Regions from separate parts of the Homo sapiens genome. Here regions 2 and 3 are each linked to region 1. Evidence: promoter capture Hi-C in 16 types of primary human blood cells and fetal thymus (Javierre and others, 2016). All regions are on one chromosome and are shown on one strand. The core of a region is centred on a gene start or on the middle of the fragment in contact, and the rest is flanking DNA. Distances in the headings are between cores, read along the strand shown.

What was found. The method cuts DNA at HindIII sites, captures the fragments that hold promoters and counts their contacts. A CHiCAGO score of 5 or more calls a contact.
Region 2: a contact is called between a fragment that was not itself captured here and the fragment with the promoter of MAP3K20 in region 1, in 1 of 17 cell types (neutrophils). The highest score is 5.3, in neutrophils.
Region 3: a contact is called between a fragment that was not itself captured here and the fragment with the promoter of MAP3K20 in region 1, in 1 of 17 cell types (neutrophils). The highest score is 5.2, in neutrophils.

Annotation. Positions count from the first base shown.
Region 1 is chr2:173,073,973-173,077,623 of GRCh38, forward strand. MAP3K20 (mitogen-activated protein kinase kinase kinase 20) reads left to right here and starts at 1,874. Exons shown (of 20, transcript NM_016653.3): 1 at 1,874-2,030. RefSeq lists silencers at 1,569-1,618, 1,699-2,438. The HindIII fragment of the contact is 14,354 bases long and covers 1-3,651 here.
Region 2 is chr2:173,366,225-173,369,875 of GRCh38, forward strand. CDCA7 (cell division cycle associated 7) reads left to right here. Exons shown (of 10, transcript NM_031942.5): 8 at 59-208; 9 at 926-1,062; 10 at 1,410-2,773. The coding sequence ends at 1,440. Among named protein-coding and RNA genes, the nearest start is that of CDCA7, 13 kb to the left of the region's middle. The HindIII fragment of the contact is 4,671 bases long and covers 1-3,586 here.
Region 3 is chr2:173,346,762-173,350,412 of GRCh38, forward strand. No RefSeq gene overlaps it. Among named protein-coding and RNA genes, the nearest start is that of CDCA7, 6.3 kb to the right of the region's middle. The HindIII fragment of the contact is 2,231 bases long and covers 606-2,836 here.

The sequences.
Region 1 (3,651 bases), core at 624-3,123:
GAGGAGGAAACTGTGGCCTATCCTGCAAAGCACTCTAGCTGATAACTGGTAGCTCTAAGACCAGAAGTCAGGTTCTCTGACTCTCAGTCTAGGGTCCTTTCCAAAACAAACAAGTGCCTCTGAAGGTAAGGTAAAATGACTGGAGTCTTCCTATGCCTGGGGTCTATGCTAAAGAGCCTTAGTTTTTCCTTGAATGGATAGGATGGAATTATTTGAATTATTTTATTAGACCTGCATTATACATTTTTTTAGCATGGCAATTTTCATCAATTCTAATTTCTCAGTTACCAAAATAAAATTTATTAATGCTAAAATCTCCAGTCCTTATCAAAGGGCAAATTAATCAGACTAATAAATTGTTTTTTAACCTCTACTCATTCATCCCTCAACTTTCATATCTTTAACCTATTGAATGACTTACAAATTTTCTATTTCACTCTTGACCTCTTTCCTGAATTTCAGTTTCATATTTCAGTTGCTGCATCTCTACCTGTTTTTACTCCTATGACCTCAAACTCAACATGAAGCCAGCTTCCCTTTCACGTATTCCTATTTTTGTCAATGACACCATCATTCTTCCAGTCATCCAGGTCTGAGATCTTGGCATCATCTCTCTTCTTCTTCTCTTCTAAATCTTGTGGGTTACCAATTTCTGTGGCCTCTTGCTGAAACGTTTAATATTTCTCTCAATTCCATTTCTTCTTTTTTTTTTTTTTTTTTTTTTTTTTTTTTTTTTGAGACAGAGTCTCACTTTCATCCAGGCTGGAGTGCAGTGGCGCGACTGTGGTTCACTTTAGCCTCGACTTCCCCAGCTCAAGCGATTCTCCCACCTCAGCCTCCCGAGTAGCTGGGACTATAGATGTATGCCACCACATCAGGCTAATTTTCTGATTTTTTTGGAGATGAGGTCTCACTGTGTTACCCAGCCAGGTCTCAAGCAATCCTCTCAGCTTGGCCTCCCAAAGTGCTGGGATTACAGGTACCATGCCCAGCCCATTTCTTCTTTTTAATTCCATTTCCTACATCCTAACTCAGGTCCTCATGATCCCACAACCGGGTGGTGACAATATCTACTACTCATCCTGGTTCCATCCTAGCAACCCAACCTACAACTACTGTGGACTACTCTCTCAAAATTACCATTTAAACAGAATCACAAACCCCCATTTCACCCCTTTGATTCTAATTTTTCACAGCTCCCAGTGTCCATGGATAATAAAATTCAAATTCAAAATCCTGAATAATGTTGCCCATGCCCTTGCAACCTCCTCTCACTTTTCCTTCACAGAACCATCCTCCCCAATCAGAAATTTCTTTTCTTCCCAACGCCCACCTCCACCTTTGGCTTAGGCCTGTAACGGACTCTGGCTCCTCTTCTGAATTCTGCTCTGTTAAAATTAGCAACTAGAGCAGCAGACCACGGCCCCTCCTCAAAATTCCAGAGGTACCTACTGATCTTTCTAGAGAGGCAGCCTTCAGACCTATGTTCCCAGAAATCTCTACGTTTGTGCCTTTCCCAACTAGAGAATTAACTCTTGCGGGGCACAAAACAGCCTCTATTTCTTTGCGTCCCCAGCGCCTGTTTGTTGAAGACTGAGTTGAAGGAGTAGCAGGTGGTGTTAATTTGTCAAAAAGATGAGTTAAGGTGCTGGGGGCGAGGGGGAACACCCCCACGGCCCTCCCCCCACAGCAAGGCAGGTGTGTCTGGGGGCCTCGGCGGGTGCCGGGGCGCGGGGCGGATGGTGCCCCCCGGGCGCAGGCCAGGGAGGCCCGAGCGCCTTCCCCACGCCCCGCTCGCCCGCGCGTGTGAGGGGAGGGCGGCCCAGCCGTTTCGCGCCGGGAGGTAGGTGGTGCTGTTGCCGTGACTGTCTTCCTCATTGGCGCCGTGCAGAGAGGCGGAATGTTCAACTCCTAACTGCAGCGGAAACGTGGGAGCCGCGCGGGCCGCTGTCGTCCCAACCCCCGCCGCCCTCGTCGCGCGCGGGGCCTCCGCGCCCCCGGCTGCTGCTCACGCCCCGCCCGGGAGCCAGGTAGGGGTCAGGCTGGAGCCCGCGGAGGGCGGGGAGGGAGGGGGCGAGGCCCGCCGCGCTCGCGAGTCGTCCCTGCGTCTCGGGGCCGAGGCTCCGCCGGAGCCCGGGAGTCTAGGCGGCCTCGGGAGGCTCCTCGGGGCTCCCCTCCCCGACCCAGGGCCCGCCCGGCGGCGGCGGCCGGAGCGAGCGGGCGGGCGAGCGAGCGAGCGTTCGCGGCGCCCGGGAAGTCCTCGCGGGACCTTGGCCGCGGCGCCGCCAAGTGCGGTTCGGGAGAGTTCGGGCCGGTCCCATGGAGAAGTTGGCGCCTGGAGGCGCGGGCGCAGGCCGGAGCGGCCCCGGCTTTCGCGGTCCCGGGCGTGCGGCACGGGCAGGGGCTCCGCGAGCAGCAGAGCCGGCCAAGCAGCGGGTGACTGGGGCACTGTCGGGAGGCGAACCGCGAGGCCCCCAAATCAGGGTAGGGTGCAGGCCACTTCCCAGCACTCGCTGTGCGTGCGAGGAGGGACGACGAACTTCTGCTTTTCTAAGAACTCGACCGCGAGCGGTGTTGCTTCCCATCCATTTTCCTTCATTCTGTTTTCCTCACACAATTAGGCCATGCGAATAACCAGCAGGAACAATGAACACTAAAGATTAGTTTTAAAAACATGCGTAAATGTATCCAGAGCCACCGCTCCCCGCCCTTCCTGCCCCGGGCTTGGGCAGCATGAAGCGCCCGCCCTCTCGGGCTTCCCCCTTTCCTCCCACCGGAGCCGGGGATGTCTCCTTTGGCGACCCTCAGGCAGCGGCTTTTTGTGGGCTCCCAGACCTGCACCAGGCCCAGAAGTGCTTACCCAGGCCGTCGCCTCGTCTGGCCTCGCTTGCCCATGACAGCTTTCAGAAAACTTTAATTCAGGACTGGCTAGATGACATCCGATTGCCTAAAAAATTTTTTTAAAAAGTTATCTCTGTTAGATCGCTGAAAATGTTATGTTTCTGATGCGCTTTGAGATCGCGCATAAGTACTGTTTATGGGGAACTTAATTACTATTTTTGTTAGTTTCTGTAATAATGAAAGCAACACAATTTAGGGGCCCATTCCAAGTATGGTACAGTAAGCAGCTCTCGATACTGGTGTGTGAGAATCGTCTTACAGAGTGAATTTGAGGATGTTTGACTTAAGATTGTTGAAAACTGTACTCCTTCTTTAACCCCGAAGCTGTTTTGGAAGAGCCTTCTTGCTTCCTCGACCTTCGTTGAAATGAACAGCTAGGATTTAGTGGATCCAAACCTCCAAACACGTTTAAAGACAAAAATAAACAAGTGATTCAAGGCTAGTTAATGTCCTCTTTGTAGTAGGCCTATCTCCACAGTGAAATTTCACTTGTTTTTCAATTTTCCAAAAAAAAAAAAAAAAAAAAGTGATGGCTGCATTTTAATTATGGTTATGGTCATTTGTAGAGTCTTTGTTTTAAATTCCTGCTACTATAGTGAGAGATTTAGGAGATTGTAAATGAATACGAATTTAGTTTGGGAAAACAGAATTAAGATAAAGAAAAATGGTCTTTTGGACCACTGCACTGTTTATTTTAATCTATCACAATTTAATTCCTACTATAACTTTTTGAGATTATTTGGGGAGTTT
Region 2 (3,651 bases), core at 1-2,500, 290 kb after region 1:
TTCCTCTGTTGAAAAACAGTGGTTTTTTTTGTTTTTTTTCTTAATGGCTTATTTGTAGGGCTCTACTTGTCATCAATGCCGTCAGAAGACTATTGATACCAAAACAAACTGCAGAAACCCAGACTGCTGGGGCGTTCGAGGCCAGTTCTGTGGCCCCTGCCTTCGAAACCGTTATGGTGAAGAGGTCAGGGATGCTCTGCTGGATCCGGTAGGTGCCTGCCAGGGGTTGGTCCTGTGGGCTTGAAGGTCAGCCACAAACTGTGATGAGGCCAGAAAAAGGCATTGGTGAAGGGGTGGAGCCCTTTCTGTTATGGGGTGCTCTTCTTTTTTTTTAAGATGGAGTCTCATTCTGTCGCCAGGCTGCAGTGCAGTGGCGCGATCTCAGCTCACTGCAACCTCCTCCTCCTGGGTTCAAGCGATTCTCCTGCCTCAGCCTCCCAAGTAGCTGGGACTACAGGCACGCGCCACCACACCTAGCTAATTTTTGTATTTTTAGTAGAGACGGGGTTTCACCACATTGGCCAGGATGGTGTGGTGGTACAAGATCTCTTGACCTCGTGATCCACCCGCCTCGGCCTCCTGAAGTGCTGGGATTACAGGTGTGAGCCACCACGCCCGGCCCAGGGTGCTCTTAATTCAGAACACAAATGAATTCAGAGGGATGGTGCTGCATAGGCATGAGCCGCTTCTACGATACTCGGGTCTGAACTGTCCCTGGGAAGTTGCTGCTCCATTTATCCCTGGTAGCTGCTTGTAACTTCCACTCCTGGAAGGAAGCATTAGGCATTAGGAAACATTAGGCATGACTAATGCCTATTAATCATATAAATTTTTAACCATAAAGAAGGGGTTAAATGTAATGTAGATAAGTTGGTGGGGGAGGTAAGGTTTAACTTAATTGTGCCGTTTGACAATCCTCCTTCAGAACTGGCATTGCCCGCCTTGTCGAGGAATCTGCAACTGCAGTTTCTGCCGGCAGCGAGATGGACGGTGTGCGACTGGGGTCCTTGTGTATTTAGCCAAATATCATGGCTTTGGGAATGTGCATGCCTACTTGAAAAGGTAGTGGGTGTTTTTTTTTCCCTTCCACATCTGAATTTTATATTCATTTATGTCTTAATGAGAAGATGATAGATGTCAGAAGAGTGGTTATCTCTGGCGGGGTGGAGACTGACTGGAACGGGGCACACTGGAAGGGATGGGAACATTTTCTGTCTTCACTTAGGTGGTGGTAACCCGGGTGGGTGGGTGTGTATGAAAAAGTCAGGTAATATACTTGAAGATGCGCACACTTGACCATAGTGATGTTATAACTCAATAAAAATGGTTTTAAAAATGAATTAGGCTTTCAAAAGAGAATTCTTTGGTTGAAAACTATGTCCTGACACATTTCCTTTTGTTTTTCACAGCCTGAAACAGGAATTTGAAATGCAAGCATAATATCTGGAAAATTTGCTGCCTGCCTTCTACTTCTCAAATCTTTCTTGTAAAAGTTTCCAATTTTTTCACTGAAACCTGAGTTAAAAATCTTGATGATCAGCCTGTTTCATAAGAAACTCCAATCAAGTTAATCTTAGCAGACATGTGTTTCTGGAGCATCACAGAAGGTATATTGCTAGTTACACTTTGCCCTCCTGCAGTTTCTTCTCTGCTCCCAACCCCCATCTCACAGCATCCCCCTCTATTTCCAATGCTCCTCTCCAACCGCTTAGTTTCTGAATTTCTTTTAAATTACAGTTTTATGAAAGCATATTTTATTTACTTGGTGTTGAAATAGCCCTCATAAAACCTAAGCACTTGGAAACACAATAATAGTATTAACTAACTAGATCTATTGAATTTCAGAGAAGAGCCTTCTAACTTGTTTACACAAAAACGAGTATGATTTAGCATTCATACTAGTTGAAATTTTTAATAGAATCAAGGCACAAAAGTCTTAAAACCATGTGGAAAAATTAGGTAATTATTGCAGATTGATGTCTCTCAATCCCATGTATTGCGCTTATGTTACAAGTTGTTGTCACAGTTGAGACTTAATTTCTCCTAATTTCTTCTGCCCGAAGGGTAAGTGGTGCGTCCAGCTTACACAATCATAATTCAAAGGTTGGTGGGCAATGTAATACTTAATTAAAATAATGATGGAAGAGCTATCTGGAGATTATGAGTAAGCTGATTTGAATTTTCAGTATAAAACTTTAGTATAATTGTAGTTTGCAAAGTTTATTTCAGTTCACATGTAAGGTATTGCAAATAAATTCTTGGACAATTTTGTATGGAAACTTGATATTAAAAACTAGTCTGTGGTTCTTTGCAGTTTCTTGTAAATTTATAAACCAGGCACAAGGTTCAAGTTTAGATTTTAAGCACTTTTATAACAATGATAAGTGCCTTTTTGGAGATGTAACTTTTAGCAGTTTGTTAACCTGACATCTCTGCCAGTCTAGTTTCTGGGCAGGTTTCCTGTGTCAGTATTCCCCCTCCTCTTTGCATTAATCAAGGTATTTGGTAGAGGTGGAATCTAAGTGTTTGTATGTCCAATTTACTTGCATATGTAAACCATTGCTGTGCCATTCAATGTTTGATGCATAATTGGACCTTGAATCGATAAGTGTAAATACAGCTTTTGATCTGTAATGCTTTTATACAAAAGTTTATTTTAATAATAAAATGTTTGTTCTAACTTGTCTGCTTTTTTAAAAATAATCTTACTGTACTTAATTCTAATTTTTTCCTCATATTTAAATAAAAGGCCATTTCCACCTTTTCTAAAAAAGTCTCCCTTTTGACTGAAGTTTCTGAAGTTCTAAGGTCAGCTTGTTTGAAAGGACCTCACTAGGTGACAGGACTAATACCTGTGATCAGAAAACGGGCGGAGACAACCACAGTGCCTGATAGAAAACAATATGTGCCCATGAAGTTTTGTAGTGTTTTCTTTTCCTTTATGATGTGCTTTGCAATACCTGGCTTACTTTTATCAACCATTCAAACATATATTAAATGCATGCTGTGCCTTGAGGCTTGTTCCAGGACTGTGAGAATCAACAAAAAAGGCATGGTCTAAAAGCTCTCATAGCCCAATTCTTTTTTTATTTTTTGTAGAGACAGGTCTTGCTATGTTGCTCAGGCTGGTTTCAAACTCCTGGGCTCAAGGGATCCTCCTGCCTTGGCCTCCCAAAGTCACAGGCAAGAGCCACCACCACACCGGCTGTCCAATTCTTTAGACCAGGGATTGGCAAACTACAGCCTGTGGGCTACATGCTGCTGCAGAGTTTATTCGTATGGCATATGAACTAAGTATTTTTTTTTCCATTTGGAAAGGGTTGTTAAATAAGCAGAGACAATATGGTTCACAAAACCTAAGATATTTACAACCTGGCACTTTACAGAAAAAGTTTACTGTGTCTGCTCTAGAGTTATTTGAGAAGCCATGTTTACCCCATGCTCATCTGGGGAGAAGAACAAGCTAAGTGAAATTGTACAACTGGTATTCTGTGTAGATCCAAAAGAAATCAGTAACTTTGTTTTTGTAAACTTTTTGGATCTTAACCCAAATTATAATCCAACCTTATTGGATATGTAATTGGGAAGCTTAAATGTTTAGAGTTCATATAAATTGATGCTTATTTGGAAAAGTTCAGGTGATACCATGTT
Region 3 (3,651 bases), core at 471-2,970, 270 kb after region 1:
AACTCTTGACCTCAGGTGATCCGCCCACCTCAGCCTCCCAAAGTGTTGGGATTACAGGCGTGAGCCACTGGGCCTGGCCCTGTGTTTAACTTTTGAGGCCTGCTGGGGGACTAATTTTGAATTCTAGGTTGATAGGACAATGTGCAGATTAGCCTCTTCCCTGGGACCCCCTACCAATATCTTGCATTGGTTTACTTCAGAAATTAAACCACCTACAAATGAGCCCTAAGTCTCCATTTAGTTAATAAAGTTCTTCTCTCTGCAGCAATTCTCTTTCCAAAGAGTTGCTTGAAAGGAACAGATCTGAAGAAGACATAAATGATTTATATAATTCACAACTAGGACAATTTAGAATAAGTTGCCTAAGTGATGAACAAAGACATTTAACACCTTTTATGGGTGTTTCCAGAGAAAAAAATGATCAAATTAAAAACAATGAAAAATTCTTACATAAAAACAGACAAAAACTTTGCCAAATGGAAAAAAGAAATTATGGAAAGGTGAACAAGTGACAGGGAAACTGTGGATGGTAAGAAGTAAGCTGAGTTAGGTTTTGGCTGTAATTCAGCTTCCATAGTGTTGGAACTGACTGATTCAGTAATCAAAGCTTGACTTTCCCTTGTGCAAAGTGTTTAATGATGTTTTAACACTAGCAGTTAATATATTTCACAATAGACAATGTTCATCCACGGAAAAACAAATATTTCTTCTTGCCAAAAAAAGGTCAGATTTGCACTCATTTTTCCATATTCCTTTTTCTAATCAGGTGTCAGATGTCAGCAAACTGATCTACTTAAAACAGTGTTGACATACAATGCAAAACAAACATACCAATATGGCTTGGAGAGCCAGCATTTGTGAACCAAACAGCCAGGGTGATAATGGGCTGGGCCCTCCAACAGAGCAGCTTTTGACAATTGAAGCCTAACGTTAGGCCTTTTAGCTATATTGCCTTTATGCATCCTGAAAGCAGGCACTGGAGACGTAAATCTGTAATTAGGGGTTATTTAAAACAGAGATTTGTGACCTGACAGACTGCAAACTGTCTATATCCACAAACACAGTGAAATTGCTCCAGCCCTTTGTCTCCAGGGGTATCTGGTCTATTGAAGGTCTCTGGTTTACAGGGGCGCTTGGGTTCATGTTATACCGCCTGAGAGATGGGTGCATGGGACCGAGAGCAGCACATGAAACATTAGCATTGTTTCTAAATCTCATCTAAAAATGATACATGCTATTAGCGGTTGCATTCTTTGTCCGAAAACCAGTCATTCTGAGTTGAAGTTTAACTTACCTCATTATGTAAGTGCTCTGAACCTCACAGTCAAGTTTCAAACTTAATAATAGGAAATGGAATTCTTTGTGCAAGGTGAATAAAAGGTATAGAGAAACACAGAATTCTTAGGGTTTGTAGTAGCCCAGGGAATTCAAAGCTCTTTAACAAGAGATTGATATTTTAGAATATTTTGAAGATTTAAAATTCCAGGGCTGGGGATGGTGGCTCATGCTTGTAATCCCAGCACTTTGAGGGGCCAGGGCAGGCGGATTGCTTGAGCCCAGGAGTTCGAGACCAGTCTGAGCAACATGACGAAACCCCCATCTCTACAAAAAATAGAAAAATTAGCCAGATGTGGTGGCCTACATCTGTGGCCCCAGCTACTTGGGAGGCTGATGTAGGTGGATTGCTGGAGCGCAGGAAGTTGAGGCTGCAGTGAGCCATGGCTTGAGCACTGCACTCCAGCCTGAGTGAGAGTGAGACCCTGTCTCAAAAAAGAAAAAATGTAAAAATAAAATAAAATTCCACCTACAACCACTTTAGTTGGAAAAATAGCTAATGCATGCAGGACTTAATACTTAGGTGATGGGTTGCTAGGTGCAGCAAACCACCCATGGCACAGATTTTCCTGTGTAACAAACCTGCACATCACATCCTGCACATTTACCCTGGAACTTAAAAAATAATTAAATTAAATTATACAAATAATACTTATAAATATAATAAGTATTTACTGAGTACCTGTTGTATTAACAGCCCTCATATCAAGTAGTGTCTGTGTAAGTATGTACTTATAAAATGTCATTTCCTTTTACCTTTTGCTGTGGCCTGTGCCATCATCTTTCCCTGGACACTGATTTTCCATGCTTATTCATTTTGTGTCTTTCATTTAAAATGAAAATATTTACCAGTGTGTGATTAATACAGTGACTTAAAACCTTTATGAGGCATCTAAAATTGCATGACAAACTTGCATTCCTATTTATAGGACCCTGTAAAGGAACTGTATATTTAACACAATAAATATATTGATATTGATTGTCAGAACAAACTCTCCAAAACTTAAATATTTTAAAATTATTAAATGTTTCAGATTAAAAAAAAAAAAGAAAAAAAAAAGCACAGAAAGTAAACATGTAAAAGACACCCATGTACTAATCACTGGCATTTGTCACATTTAACAATTTGCCATATTTGCTTCCCATGGTTTTTATTTTTCAAGAAAGCATTGTTAAAGCACTGACCTTAGACAAATTAAATTTAGCAGTTTAATGGAGCAAAGAATGTTTGCAAATCGGGGATCCCCTGAACCAGAGTAGGTTCAGAGAGGCTCCAGAGCAGCTGCATGGTGGAAAAAGATTTATGGACAGAAAAAGTGAGGTACAGAAAACAGAAGTGAATTACACCAACAGCTGGATTGGTTACAGCTCAGGGTTTGCCTTATTTGAACACAGCTTGAACAGTTGGTCACCCTTGACTGGCCAAAACATGGTGGTTGGTACAAGAGTAAGTTAGTCTGTTTATATACCCAGTTGGGTTACAGTTCATTGTGTATGGAGAAGCTTTAGGCTGAACTTAAAATATGTAAGGAGGCGGCTTTAGGCTAAACTTAATTTAACAGCATTAATGATAGCTGGGTGCAGTTATGTACACCCATAGTCCCAGCTATGTGGGAGGCTGAAGTGGGAGGATCACTTGAGGCCAGAAGTTGGAGGCTGTAATGTGCTATGATCACACCACTGCACTCCAGCCTGGGCAACATAGCAAGACCCAGCCTTTTTTTAAAAAAAAAAAAAGAAAAAGAAAAGAAGAAAGCATTAATAATAGAATCAAAGGACCCACCCTTGCCTCTTTCCTCCATCTTTTCCACCTTAAGTTAATTTCTGTGCTATTCTGCTTGTCTAGGTTTTTATACTCTCCCAACTTAGGTATGTTTTGTGTTTCTAAAATTTGCATAAAGGGTACACTTTACAGACACTTTTACTATTTGCTTTTTCATTGAACACTGTTAAGATTTCTCTACAATGATGCCAGTAAGCTATGCCATTAATTTGAACTACTGTTCAGATTCCATTGTACAAATACACCACTGTTCATGTATCCATTTCCCTTCTGAGGGGCATGTTGACTGCAGTATTTTACTATGATACATAATGCTAATATGAATGAACCATCCATCCCTCAAGTCCAGTTAGCTCTAACTTTTATAATAATCATATATCTTAAATCTGACTTCATCTGACCCCACAACTATCCCAGTCCAAGCCATCATTTGCTTCTCCAGGAGCCCATAGGTCTCCCAGCTTTCACTCTTGGCTCTCCTTCAGTTTACGACCCACACAGTTCATGGGGTCGGATTGGGTCTTTCTTTTTCT